Regions from separate parts of the Homo sapiens genome. Here region 1 is linked to region 2. Evidence: promoter capture Hi-C in 16 types of primary human blood cells and fetal thymus (Javierre and others, 2016). All regions are on one chromosome and are shown on one strand. Each heading gives the region's core, a stretch centred on a gene start or on the middle of the fragment in contact. The rest is flanking DNA. Distances are from core to core; before and after follow the strand shown.

The links. Contacts are between HindIII fragments. The CHiCAGO score rates a contact against its expected background, and 5 or more counts as called.
Region 1: a fragment that was not itself captured here is called in contact with the fragment with the promoter of GMNN in region 2 in 1 of 17 cell types (neutrophils); the score reaches 6.9 in neutrophils.

Annotation. Positions count from the first base shown.
Region 1 is chr6:24,936,365-24,943,587 of GRCh38, forward strand. All of the region lies in intron 2 of LOC105374981 (a long non-coding RNA gene), which reads left to right. It also overlaps a transcript of RIPOR2 not described here. Among named protein-coding and RNA genes, the nearest start is that of RIPOR2, 4.0 kb to the left of the region's middle. RefSeq lists an enhancer at 309-478. The HindIII fragment of the contact is 3,050 bases long and covers 494-3,543 here.
Region 2 is chr6:24,773,506-24,780,200 of GRCh38, forward strand. GMNN (geminin DNA replication inhibitor) reads left to right here and starts at 1,432. Exons shown (of 7, transcript NM_015895.5): 1 at 1,432-1,739; 2 at 3,717-3,792. The coding sequence starts at 3,742. RefSeq lists an enhancer at 2,347-2,426. The HindIII fragment of the contact is 2,242 bases long and covers 353-2,594 here.

The sequences.
Region 1 (7,223 bases), core at 769-3,268, 160 kb after region 2:
TTAAACCAAAGCAGGCATTTAGAGGACAGAGCTTTTATTTTGCTCAGTAATAGTTGCATTTTTCTTTTCTTTTCTTTTCTTTTTTTCAAACCTCTTGCATTTAAGGATTGGAAACTTTACAGCATTTAAACCAAACTGAACCATATCTAGGCTTTATGTGGCTCGATTAAATCTATAGTCAATGAATAGATAACTGGTTTTGGTCAAACATCTTGCATTTCACAATATTTACTCAGTTTGATACTTCAGACTGTATCACTAAAGGAGAAAGAAGAAAATGTAACTCAAAAAGCAGTCCTCCCAAAGGGATGAGTGAACACTGAGCTTCTACGCGAGCACCATTGGCTGGCATCACCATATCGAGCTACCCAACGTGTGCCAAATTCTGTCTGGCTGCACAAACAAACACACATCTCTCTGAGTAATACTGAGACTTCATTTCGGGGTTTCCCAGAGCACTCCACTGTGTTGTAAGATCTCTTAGGTGGCCAGAAGCTTAGAAAATGCAAATGGAGATGACAGTGAGGAGCTGTTGACCCAAGGTGTTTATTTTTGGCACTTTATTTACTGCATGGTTTTGAAGATACTCCCAGTGTTACCCTAGAGAAACTGTCCCCTCCTCCTGTAACTGCAACCTTGAAATTGCACCATTTTCTCCCAGAAGAGACTGTGGACAACAGGGTTGGAGAAATCCAGCAGTGAGAAGGGATCACCCCAGAGGAATTCAGGAATCAGACACTGAGGGTTAACTGAGCAGCAACAGTCAGTTCATCCCTGCATTGGTGGCTGCAGCAGTTCCCAAAGACAGTGTACAGCTTGGGTCCTGCTGGGATCACCAATTGTTGTCAATCAGGGCTGGAACCATCCTTAGAGGAGAGCTTGGAAATGTCTGGGGTGTTTTGGGTGGCACAATGACTGGGGGTTATTACTGGTATTTAATGTCTTAGCACTCAGGGGCCCAGGGATATCAACCTTACCATAATGCATGGAACAGTAGCTCAACAGGAAGAACTGTCCAGCTCCAAATACCAATAATGCCCACCTTGAGACACACTGACAGGCAGAGAACTGGAGTTATCCTTTTCTCTAGCTCTCCTTTGCATCTCCCCTTTCTGACCCTTTTACCACCCCCTACCATGATCCCCACTTGAATGATGTTTCTGGACAAGGGTTGCACTTAGTTACATAAATTAAATTAATTAAAATGGGCCTAGGTGTAGGAAATTTGGATGTGGACTAAAGCTCTCTTTTGTGTGGTTGGGATAAGAGGATGGGTGTCCATTTTGATAATCACTACATTTCTCAACTACTGTCCTATGTCCTTTAATCTCCACAACTTCATGAGGTGGGTGCTATTATCCCATTTTACAGATGAAGCAATGGGGGCTCTGAGGGCTTGAAAAACATTCCTAAGATCAGGCAGCTAGTGAGTGGCAGATTTGACTAATTCCAGAGCTCACTCTGTTACCTCATGTCTGGACAACTTATGGGAGTGACTGCACACAGTCCAGTTCACTGCAGCATCCCCGTGGCTCTTGGGGACCTGCACTACCTCCCTCACCTCCCACCTCAGAACTACCTGGTTACCACGTGAACCTGAGGGCCCTAGCTATTCCACTTCAAAAAGTTAGCATAACCTCTGTAGGCCTGTTTCATTTTAAGTGGGTGGAATTGTGTCTCCCCTGTTGAATTCATATGTTGAAGTCCTAACCCCCAGTACCTCAGAATGTGACCTTACTTAGAAACAGGGCCATTGAAGATATAATTAGTTAGGATGAACTTATATCATATTGGAGGAGGATGGGTCCTTAATCCAATATGACTAACTTCCTCATAAAAAGGAGAGATTTAGACAAAGACATAGACATAGGGAGGATAGTATGTGAAGATGAAGGCAGAGATCCACAAGCCAAGGAACACCAAAGACTGCCAGTAAACCACCATGAGCTAGGGGAGAGGCCTGCAAGAGATTCTCCCTCACATCCCTCAGAAGAACCAATCCTGCCAACACCTTGACCTTGGACTTCTAGCCTCCACAGCTGTGATGCAGTAAGTTTCTGTTGCTTAAGCCACCCAGTTTGTGGTACTTCATTACAGAAGTCCTAGAAAATAATATACTTTCTCATTTGGCTTGTTTTGAGGATTAAGTAGGATAATTTATGTAAAGAAGCTGACACAGTACATGGTACACAGTAAATACCCAGTTATAATTATACGCCTAAGTCTCTCACAGGGACGCTTAGGATATTTCCCAAATTGAAGGCTCAATGGGGATAGAGAATGAGAAGTCACCACACTCCATATAAAACCTCAATAACCCTTAGGAAGTTTCCCTCAGTCTCCTCTTCTCCAATTTAGATATCTCAGAAACACAGCTAATCATCTCAAAGAACAAATCACAAATGCTACCACGAACTCCTTGAAAGCACAGAGGATAGAAAACATGGTTCTTGCTCTCCAAAGTTTACAATTACCTTAGAGAGATATGACATACATGCATGATGTGTTAACTAAAAAGAAAAATTAATAAACTACATATGCATGCATCAATATGGATGAGTTTCAAAAACATAATATTGACTTTGAAAGGTCTCAGAAAATTATAAATGGTATAATTATATTTATATGAGTGTCCAAAATGAGCAAATAAAAAAATGTAGGTAATCGCTAACACAGAGTGCCAGCAACAGTTTTAAGTGCTTTGATTCACTTAATTCCTATATCAACCCTAAGATATAGATATATTTATTATCTCTATTTTAGTTTAAGGCCCAAGAGGTGAAGTGATCCACCCAAGGTCATACATTTGGTAAGTGGTAGAGGTACTGAGATTTGATCCCAGAGTCCAAACTCTTAAACACCAGGCTACACTATCTCTTATCTATGTAAAGTCTAAAAGAATGCTGAGCTTATATAAAATTTTAACAAAGTGCAATAAACTGTGAAGAAGTGACTAGACAAAGGAGGCAGAGTAGGGGAGTGGGCTCCTAAGAGTGGCAAATTGTGGGAAGGTAACTAGGAATGTATGATAGCTAAGGATTGTTATGCAGACTCATCTCTCATATCAGGAAGAGGACCATGAGGCTTAGTCACCCAAGATGGGAAATAAAACACCTTTACAAGTGGAAATTTATGGCACTTAAAGCAGAAAGGAGAAGGGCAGAAGATTCTTTCTCAAAAATAGCTCAAAATAGTACTTATGCTAAATTAGCATATTTTGGGGGACACATTCTGATCCCCTTCGAATCCATATTAGAAAAGAAAGACTAAAGATAGGGAAATTCAGTGCTTAGTTAAGGGAGATGTAGGTCACAGAGAGTAGTTTTCACTAAGAAATGAGGAGTAAGTCTGAAACAACAATGAAAGAATCTTGCTTTTCAGTGATTGAGGCAAACAGCTCCAATAATTGGATTTGGGGAAGAGAACAAAAGTATAGATGAACCAGTATAAGGCAACTACTTTGATCAAATGGTGATTTGTGACAACCTGTACTAAATTTAACAGCAGAATTTCATCAAGGTCATAAGCACAGGAACATAGCAAAGCTTTTATACTCCAAAGAGTTGGTGCCCACTTTATGCCATACTAGGTCTGTGAATTACAATGATATGAAAGGTCTGGTCCTTGCTTTGTGGAACTTTACTCACTTCATTCATTTGGAGAATAGTAATGAATACCTACTATATTTCAGGTATGGTGTGAAATATTTAAGTAAATATATAAGTGAGAAGGCATGTGTTGTGTTGAACATATGAATATCAACACAGTATTATTATTTTGAGTTATGAGAATTGAGGCTATAATAATTAATAATTTATTAATTTAAAATATTTCTGCATAGTTTGCTGTTTTGAAAAAAAATACCACCTGTGAAGCGTGTACAGGAGGAAACCATACTAGTGGAAAAATTTCAACATCCAACGTGGGCTTTTATTCCAACAGAAGAGCCTCACAATCTTCTCTCTGTGCTTCTGGAGAATTTCCCACTCCTTTCAGAAAGTGTTTTAAAATACTTAATTTTCAGATATACAAACTTCTGAACAGGGAGAAAAACCTGAACTAATTAGGAGCAAAATGTTCGAAACAGAAAGGAGAACAAAGTAGGAGAGAGGAATTGAAACTGTGAGGAGTGGTAGGAATCAGAAAAGAAAAAGGTGAAAAAAACCACAGAGTCAGAAATAATCTTATCTTTGGGTAACTTTGCCAGTAAAGATGCACCTAAAAATTTGTCTAATTTGTCTAACTGTAAAATGCCATGTCTAAAGAGCTGGGACAAAAGGAATACGATTTTTTTTTTTTGAAACAGAGTCTGTCTCTGTCGCTCAGGCTGGCGTGCAGTGGCTCGACCTTGGCTCACTGCAACCTCCACCTCCCGGGTTCAAGTGATTCTCCTGCCTCAGCTTCCCCAGTAGACTAGCTGGGACTACAGGTGTGCGCCACCATGCCCAGCTAATTGTTTGTGTATTTTTAGTAGAGACGAGGTTTCACCATGTTGGTCAGGCTGATTTTGAACTCCTGACCTAAAGTGATCTGCCCGCCTTGGCCTCCCAAAGGGCTGGGATTACAGGCGTGAGCCACTGCGCCTGGCTGGAACATGATTTTTAATAGTATTCTTGTTTTCATGTTGCAAAGAGGAGGTACCAATCTCATGGGTACAATCTCATGAGGGTTGTCTCATGAGGAAAACCCTCCCAGAGCCTTTAGAAGTCTTCCTGCCTGCCTCCCCCAGTTTCAGGCGCATCATTAGGCTGCAGGAGCCACACTTAGAGTCACTTACTGAAGGTGCTGGGGAAGCCTGACCAAAGTCCAGGACTGTTTCCTTCAATGGGACTAAAGACAATGACGGTAATTGCCCGCTGAGGGAATCCATTCCTTCCACTTACGAAAGAAGGAGAAGAACCCAGCAAACGAGAGTTCTATGGCAAGACTCACATTGGGTATGGTTGGCAAGGTCATAACTATGGGTTAAAGGTATGACTGCTGGGAGTGGTTAGCTTGCAACTAGAAACAGAAAAAAAAAAAAGCATATAAAGGCACTGGTTCTGGGATTTGACAGGGCTGAGTTACAATCTTGGCTTCGTTACTATCTAGCTCTTTGACTAGAGTTAATAATTTCACTTTGAATCAGTAAAATGGAATAATAATAATCAATTACTGAGTTAAGGGACAGTTCAGCCCTTTCCCACTAATTGTCCCAAATTAAAATACAATCTATATTAATACATTGTGCTATCAATGCAAACACAACTTCAAGACCCAGTCCCTAGTCCCTGGCCTTACCCTCTGTCTCAACCAGAATGTAATCACAAAGCCTCTCCAATAAAGAAATCCTGTAGCTGCTACTGATAATAAAATTTACCTCTCAGGGTTTGGCAACATTAACTGAGATGGGAATCCTTTCCTGTGGCCCTACCATTGACTTTAAAAGCATTTTCAGGGATCACTGTACAGTCTGCCCCTCCTCCCCTTTTTTTAACCTCAAGACAAATTTCTTGGTGTGGGAGCTACAGAAAGTGACAGAAGGGGTGGAGAAAAGATACACAGGAAAATAAACTTTAAGAAGACAGAAAGGAACAGTCTTCCATGTCTGTGAGAGATGTGGGGAAAGTTTAAGGAGAATTACAATCCTTCCTCCCAGAATGTGACCCCAGACCCAAGACAGCCAAAGAAGGCAAGATGAGAAGATATAACTTTCTCAACTTTTAAAGAAAGGCATGCATTTTGTGCACCCTAAATCTTATAATGAAAGATTGCTTGATAGCACATAAGTCACTGGGTGGCAAAATAAGAGACAATATAAAATATTGTTATTGAAAAAATGAATTTTATTTAATGACTAGTACTTGATCCTTTGGTAAATCACAAACTTTCTAATTATTTGTTTTCAAGGAACTGAAGGAAGATCTTACCGAGTTGATACTATGGGATCAAGAAATGTATTTTTAAATAATAATTTATTACATGATATTTGACATACGATTGACAAAAAATTAAAAGAGATTGGATATTAGAGAAAACGCTGACATAAAGACCTTTAAAAAGCCTTTCTTTGGGTATATACCCAGTAATGCAATTGCTGGGTCAAATTGTATTTCTAGTTCTAGATCCCTGAGGAATCGCCACACTGACTTCCACAATGGTTGAACTAGTTTATAGTCCCACCAACAGTGTAAAAGTGCTCCTATTTCTCCACATCCTCTCCAGCACCTGTTGTTTCCTGACTTTTTAATGATTGCCATTCTGACTGGTGTGAGATGGTATCTCATTGTGGTTTTGATTTGCATTTCTCTGATGGCCAGTGATGATGAGCATTTTTTCATATGTCTTTTGGCTATATAAATGTCTTCTTTTGAGAAGTGTCTGTTCATATCCTTTGCCCACTTTTTGATGGGGTTGTTTGTTTTTTTCTTGTAAATTTGTTTGAGTTCATTGTAGATTCTGGATATTAGCCTTCTGTCAGATGAGTAGGTTGCAAACATTTTCTCCCATTCTGTAGGTTGCCTGTTCACTCTGATGGTAGTTTCTTTTGCTGTGCAGAAGCTCTTTAGTTTAATTAGATCCCATTTGTCAAATTTGGCTTTTGTTGCCATTGCTTTTGGTGTTTTAGACATGAAGTCCTTGCCCATGCCTATGTCCTGAATGATATAAATCATGCTGCTATAAAGACACATGCACACATATGTTTACTGCAGCACTATTCACAGTACCAAAGACCTGGAACCAAGCCAAATGTCCCACAATGATAGATTGGATTAAGAAAATGTGGCACATATACACCATAGAATACTATGCAGCCATAGAAAATGATGAGTTCATGTCCTTTGTAGGGACATGGATGAAGCTGGAAACCATCATTCTCAGTAAATTATCGCAAGGACAAAAAATCAAATACTGCATGTTCTCACTCATAGGTGGGAACTGAACAATGAGAACACTTGGACACAGGAAGGGGAACATCACACACTGGGGCCTGTTGTGGGGTAGGGGGAGCAGGGAGGGATAGCATTAGGAGATACACCTAATGTTAAATGACGAGTTATTGGGTGCAGCACACCAACATGGCACATGCATACGTATGTGACTAACCTGCATGTTGTGCACATGTACCCTAAAACTTAAAGTATAATAATAATAATAATAAAGCCTTTCTTCCATAAAAGCAATAAGAAACTGGGAAAATGGCCAGTATCGACTTTTGCAGAAGGCTGGAAATTAACCAAAGG
Region 2 (6,695 bases), core at 182-2,681:
AAGACTCCGTCTCAAAAAAAAAAATTATTATTGAAAATCCCAAACAGATATAAAAGTAGAGGGAGTGAATAAAAAATCTTCATGTACTCATCCATACTAGCCTCAGCAGTTATCAACACAAGGCCAATACTGTTTTATTCGCACCAGTGGTTCTCAACTGGGGATGATTTTGCCCTGCGGAAGGTTATCTGACAAGGTCTGCAGACATTTTTGGTCTTCACAATTGGGATGTACTCCTGGTAGCTAGAGGGTAGAGGCCAGGGATACTGCTAAACAGCATACAATGCCCAGGACAGCCCCCACCACGAACAATTTGCCCAGTCTAAAATGTCAATAGAGCCCATACTGAGAAAGCTTGATTTATACCTTTTCCCTTGCTTCTCTCAATAATTATTTCAAATAAAATATATGGTATAAAATTTCATCTGTAATTACCATTTATAGGTAGAAGCTATTACAATAAAACCCACAATATTGTCATTACAACTAATCTCTTTTTTTAACCCATTGCTCATCAGGTAACCTTAAACAACTCATATCTTACCATCCCAAAATATTCAGTCAGTGTTCAAATTTCCCTTGGGTATTTTTTTAAATACAGTGTTTAGTTCAGACGAGATCCATACATTGCATTTGGTAATATGTCCCTTATTTGTACTCGATAACGCCTTCCTTCTGCTTTTTATTTTTAAAATATTTTAAAATTAATTTTTTTTTGAGACAGGGTCTCCCTTTGTCTGTAGTCCCAGCTACTCGGGAGGCTGAGGCAGGAGAATCGCTTGAACCCGGGAGGCGGAGCTTGCAGTGAGCCGAGATCGCGCCACTGCACTCCAGCCTGGGTGACAGAGCGAGACTCCGTTTCAATTAAAAAAAAAAAAAAGAAGGAAAAGGCTAGACGTAATTATTACCAAGGTGTTTCTGCTCCTTCAAATTGCAACAGCAGTTGTAATTTCAGTGCCTAGAACAGTAGTAATTGGCACGTATAAGGCGCTCAATGAATAGCTGCAGGATTAACTGATAATCGGTTGTCTCCTGAACAATTCCTACCGCACCACACCATAGTCAAAACACAAAAAGCCAAAATATAAAAGCCCCTAATACAACTACGAGTCCGTGGAGCCAGGGCTTTACACAAATATATGTCGTGTACTACATATTAATATATATGCACATACAATATTTTGTTCTTCTGGTGCTAACGACTAATGGAGGCAAATCTTTCTCCCTTTCGTAAAGGGCTAAAACTTTGCATTTTAAGGAAGTTCCAAGAGCAGGGTCGGAGGGGAGGGTCAAAGGGCACAGGCCTCCCAGCCCGCAGAAAACCCCCACGGTCCTCAAGTACTCGCTACCGTTGACCGCGCAGGCGCAGGAAGGGGCGGGGCCGAGGGAAGAGGCGATTCGCGGGATCCAGAGGCCCCGCCCCTCGTCTGCGTCAGTTGGTCACGTGGTTGTTCGGAGCGGGCGAGCGGAGTTAGCAGGGCTTTACTGCAGAGCGCGCCGGGCACTCCAGCGACCGTGGGGATCAGCGTAGGTGAGCTGTGGCCTTTTGCGAGGTGCTGCAGCCATAGCTACGTGCGTTCGCTACGAGGATTGAGCGTCTCCACCCAGTAAGTGGGCAAGAGGCGGCAGGAAGTGGGTACGCAGGGGCGCAAGGCGCACAGCCTCTAGACGACTCGCTTTCCCTCCGGCCAACCTCTGAAGCCGCGTCCTACTTTGACAGCTGCAGGGCCGCGGCCTGGGTAAGGGCGAAGGGGTTGTTGAACGGTCGCGGGAGCCGGGGCGGGGTTGGGAGGTGAGTCGAGGGACTGCCCCATTGGCTGGGTCGGTTTTGGCGCGCTCTCACTTCCGCGCTTCCTATTGGCTGGCTGGCGCAGTTCCCGAGGCGCGCGCCGCGGTTGGTAGGCTCGGACGCGCGGGGCCACACTGCCCGCCCCCTAGCCTGGCGCTGGGCCTCCGGGACAAGTTGGCTGGGTCCGGGCTTGGGGACTGCAACGCGGGTAAGGGACTCAGCCTGGGCTTGCCAGCTGTGGGGATGAGGCGAAGCATCCATCCTCTTGGCAGTTAAGTGGCTGGTCCTGATCTGAGGGATCTGCAAATTTGGCTCATGGAAAGAGGTGGCTGAATTCTGCGTCTCCCATTAAACGGATACTGGCGTTGTTGATACGGGTTTCGCATGGACCCTGTCCTGTGCCAGGGTTTTTAATCTAGCTATTAAAGGAACTGGAGAATAACAAGTAAGGGTTGCAAGGTCGCTGACAGGCGTGGGAAACTTGTGAAGGATTAGAATGCTAAGTGGCTTTCAGCTTTTTTCACACTAAGGTACGTTTTACGTCGCAACCTAGGACACAGCTATCTAACCAAATGAGACGTGATGGAAGCAATGTTTCTCGTCTCTTCAATTCCATTCTGTTCAGTTGCATTTTTCTAAGCAGTGTTGCTCATGACTCACTAATTTCGAGATCACGGCCCGCGACCCGCAGTTTGAAGAACATTGCGTAGGGTCTGTTTACTGGGGCCCGAACACCATTTTCTTAACATGAAATAGAGTAGAAAATAGCAGGATGCCCGCACAAATTAGATTGTTTTGTTTTCTAAGCTTTTTTTTTTTTTGAGACGGAGTCTCGCTCTGTTGCCCAGGCTGGAGTGCAGTGGCAGGATCTCGGCTCACTGCCACCTCCACCTGTCGGGTTCAAGCGATACTCCTGCCTCAGCCTCCCGAGTAGCTGGGACTACAGACGAGCACCACCACGTCCGGCTAATTTTTGTATTTTTGGTAGAGATGGAGTTTCACCATATTGGCCAGGCTGGTTTCGAACTTCTGACCTCAGGTGATCCGCTTGCCTCGACCTTCCAGCACTTTGGTGATCATGCAGGTGATCCGCCTGCCTCGACCTCCCAAAGTGCTGGGATTACAGATGTGAGCCACCACGCCCGGCCTTTCCTAAGCTTTTTTGTTTGCACATGTGTGTGCACGCGCCAGGACACAAGGTAAAATGTATTAATGTTAGAAGCCACTGCACTGAGTAAAGGCATGGCCACAAAAATTAGGGACATCTATCGACGAGGCACAGGCGCAGACACGGCAGGGGCCAATGGGTAGTGGGCAGTGGGCAGTGGGCAGTGGAGCAGCAGTTCAGATGCTGAGTTTGGCCCAGTGGTCTAGTCAACCGCATTACATAGATCCCTTTCTACCTTTTCCCTCTTTCTTGCTTGTTAGTCCTTCAGTTCATGTTACTGGTTAAACATTTCCTACAAATGTAAATGCATGATCTCATTTGACCAGATATTAAGTCTGTGTTAAGTTATTGTCAGAGCCCAGTTTATTATACCTTAAATCTGTCTTTGAATCAGGAAAGTTAAGATGCTGCTCTTTAGGATGGACCTGGGCATACCCTAGTATCTGTTTATTTTGCTTTTTCTGGTGACTATTTAATCCAGGACAATATGTTTAGAAATTTTAAACCAGTTTTAGAAATTGGTTTAAAATACATTAATTTCATTTTTTCAGCTATAATTATTATGTGTGTATATATGTAAAATATAGATATCAAGAGTCATTAACTTTAGTCACCTTAGTCATTGACAGGGCTGAGTTTGGATTAAGAGAGAAAAAATAATAGTTCTACTGTACAATAGTATAATTTTTATGATTGTAAGTATTTTAAACCTAGACTCCACCTTCGGGGGTGCAAACCATATTGTTTTTTAATTACTAGTCTTCTGTGCTTCACCATCTACATAATGAATCCCAGTATGAAGCAGAAACAAGAAGAAATCAAAGAGAATATAAAGGTATGTGATTGAATAACTTTAATTTTTTTTTGTAGAAAGCATGGGGCTAAAAGTATTTTGACATAATTTATCCAAATTTAGCCTGGCTATAATTTCTGTAAGCCTTGAGTTAGTCAGAGGATGAGTAACAATAGAGAACATTTTTAAAAAACTAATTACGGTTGAATATTAAGTCTGACCCAAGAATATGGGTTGTCTCTCTTATTTTGGTCTTTCAACAGTATTTTGTAGTTTTCAGAGCATGAATTTTACACTATTTATGTTAAATTTTTTCCTAAGTATTCTTTTTGAGGTTACTGTGAATGGAATTGTTTCCTTAATTTCATTCTCATTTGGTCATTGCTACTGTATAGGAAAATAATTGACTTTTGTGTCTTGATTTTGTGTCCTGAAACCTTGCTGAACTTAATAGTTCTAATTGTTTTTTAGTAGATTCTTCAGGATTTTCTTTTCTTTTTGTATTTTCTCTGTGAAGATTCCAGAAGTATCTTTAGGATTTTCTATGTATGAGATTATTACTGCTTTGTTTCTACTCTTATATTTCATGAAATGTTATTAAAATCCATTGTGTATATCTTCAGAATTAAGAGTCTTTGACCACAGACATGTTTTGCATTATATTACACATTTTTCTAGAGTATACCATATTCATTACCATCTAACCTATTTGATTTGTGATACTTTTTCAATCCCTATATGATACTTTCACTGGAAATCTTATTCCAAGTATTTACTCTTATGACAGCAGGACAGAGTTTGTTTAGTTTTGAGTTTATACTTCTGACTAGATTCATATTTATGGTTCTAAGTTAATTTACAATTTAGCTAGGTCCTTCCACACAACTTAAATTATATGAATACCTTGGGAATTGGATCACATCTTCAGGTAAACTATCAATTTGCGGTTTTAAATAAATAAAGAGCCAGGTGCCCATGGTGGCTCATGCCTGTGATCCCAGCTACTTGGGAGGCTGAAGTAGGAGGATTGATTGAGCTCTGGACTTTGAGAACAGCCTGGGCAACAAAGGGAGACCCTGTTTCTAAAAAACCATAATTAGCTGGGTGTGGTGGCACCCACTGGTAATCCCAGCTACTGGGAGGCTGAGGTGTGGGAGGAATTGCTTGAGCCTAGGAGTTTGGGCTTTGGTGAATTATGATTGCTTCACTGCACTCCAGCCTGGGTGACAGAGTAAGACCCTGTACCTAAAAAAATTTTTTTTATATTAAGTAAATTAAATTGAGTACCTAAAAGCCATTGATAAGTATAAGCAAGTACCTTTTGATGGGTTTTTTGTTTGCCTTGCTTTTCTTAGGATTCTTACAATATTTTTCTTGAATAAGAATGTCAATTGACATTATATTCGCATTGACAATTTGTGAATTTGATTCCATTAGCTTCCATTTAGGATGATGGCATCTTCCCACTGTGCTTTGTGTGTGATTATTTAAAATTTTTGTTATGAAATTTTTGAAATATTTAAAAGTATTTTAATAATTTACTTCCCCAGCTTCAGCAATTACCGCTATATGGCCAATCTGGTTTCATCTATGTCCTTATTTACTCCACTTTTCCTTCAGTGGATTAATTTGAAGCAAATCACAGCCAAATAATTTATATATTTCCAGCAGATTACATTTTAAAGAAAGTCTTGTGTTTACTAGCTACAGTGAAACTATCTTGAATATAAAGGATACTAGGTTCTGTTTGGTTTTGGTTCTACCTCCAAAACTGAGACCTTGGGTGGGTTAGTTAGCATTTCAGCCTTAGTTTACTCATCTGTAAATTGGGAGAACTGGACTAGAACTAGATCCTTGTGAGTTGCATGCAAAATTCTGTGTGAATGTGCTTTTATGTGAATTTTTTTGGGGAGAGGATTCACAGAGTATTAAATAGTTTTCCAAAAAGGTTAAGACCCATTAATATACAAGAAACTTTCTGGCTTTAAGAGTCTATTATTCCAATGCATACTCTATATACAGAAAATAATAATAGTAATGTTACATTGTTTTAGGCAAAAGTCTATATAGCTTATATAAATAAAAGTTAAATCTTGGAAATGGTCTTTTTTTTTGGTGACAGTTACTTAGCTGGCTTCTTTGACCATTATTAACAGAAAGCATTTAAATAACACCTCTTGTTAGTAAGGTTCCAACGTTACATTTTCTTTTATTTGTCTGGAGACTGTTGACTAATCTATAATCTAAATTATATCTGAAATGTTGATGTAATATTTGTCCTCACAGTAGCTGGCATTTGTCCTTCAGTTAAATGGTGAGATAATAATCAGCAGTAGAAACTTTACCGTGGGAAAGGTGAACTCTTATCATGTGAAGTACAGTGTGGAATCAGTAACTTTCTCACGCTGGTATGGTATCATGTTCTTGCTAACCTTGTTTGAGTATTCACCATTGTTTGCTATCCCATGGTGGCAGTATAACTAATGATATTTTGCAAAAATAGGAGAGAACTTTCAGATCATGAAATATACAGGAAGTTGTTTACATATTACAAGGAAGGCAATATTTTCACCAAAACAATAGCTTGGGCATTTTAGAGTATTTTAGTATGCCTCAGGCACTGACATTTTAGCCACCTTCTAATGAATGGGCTTGAAGCAGAACTGCTTCTACTATCAGGTAATGGTTGAGGGGGGATGTCTATTACACATGTACTTTGTTTTGTGTAAAGTATGTTCTGGAAAGTTACATTCTTTTGGTGAGTACATGTAAGTATTTGAGGGATATTCATGATTTAAGGAGGCCTGAAATGAATCTTTTTGATTAGGGAAAGAAATATTTTGCAGTGTAAATGATTAACCATTTCTTCCAGTTTACCTGTTTGGTGAGTTCATACCATAAATGTTACGATGTTTGGTTTTATAAAAGAGTACCTGTAAGTTTTT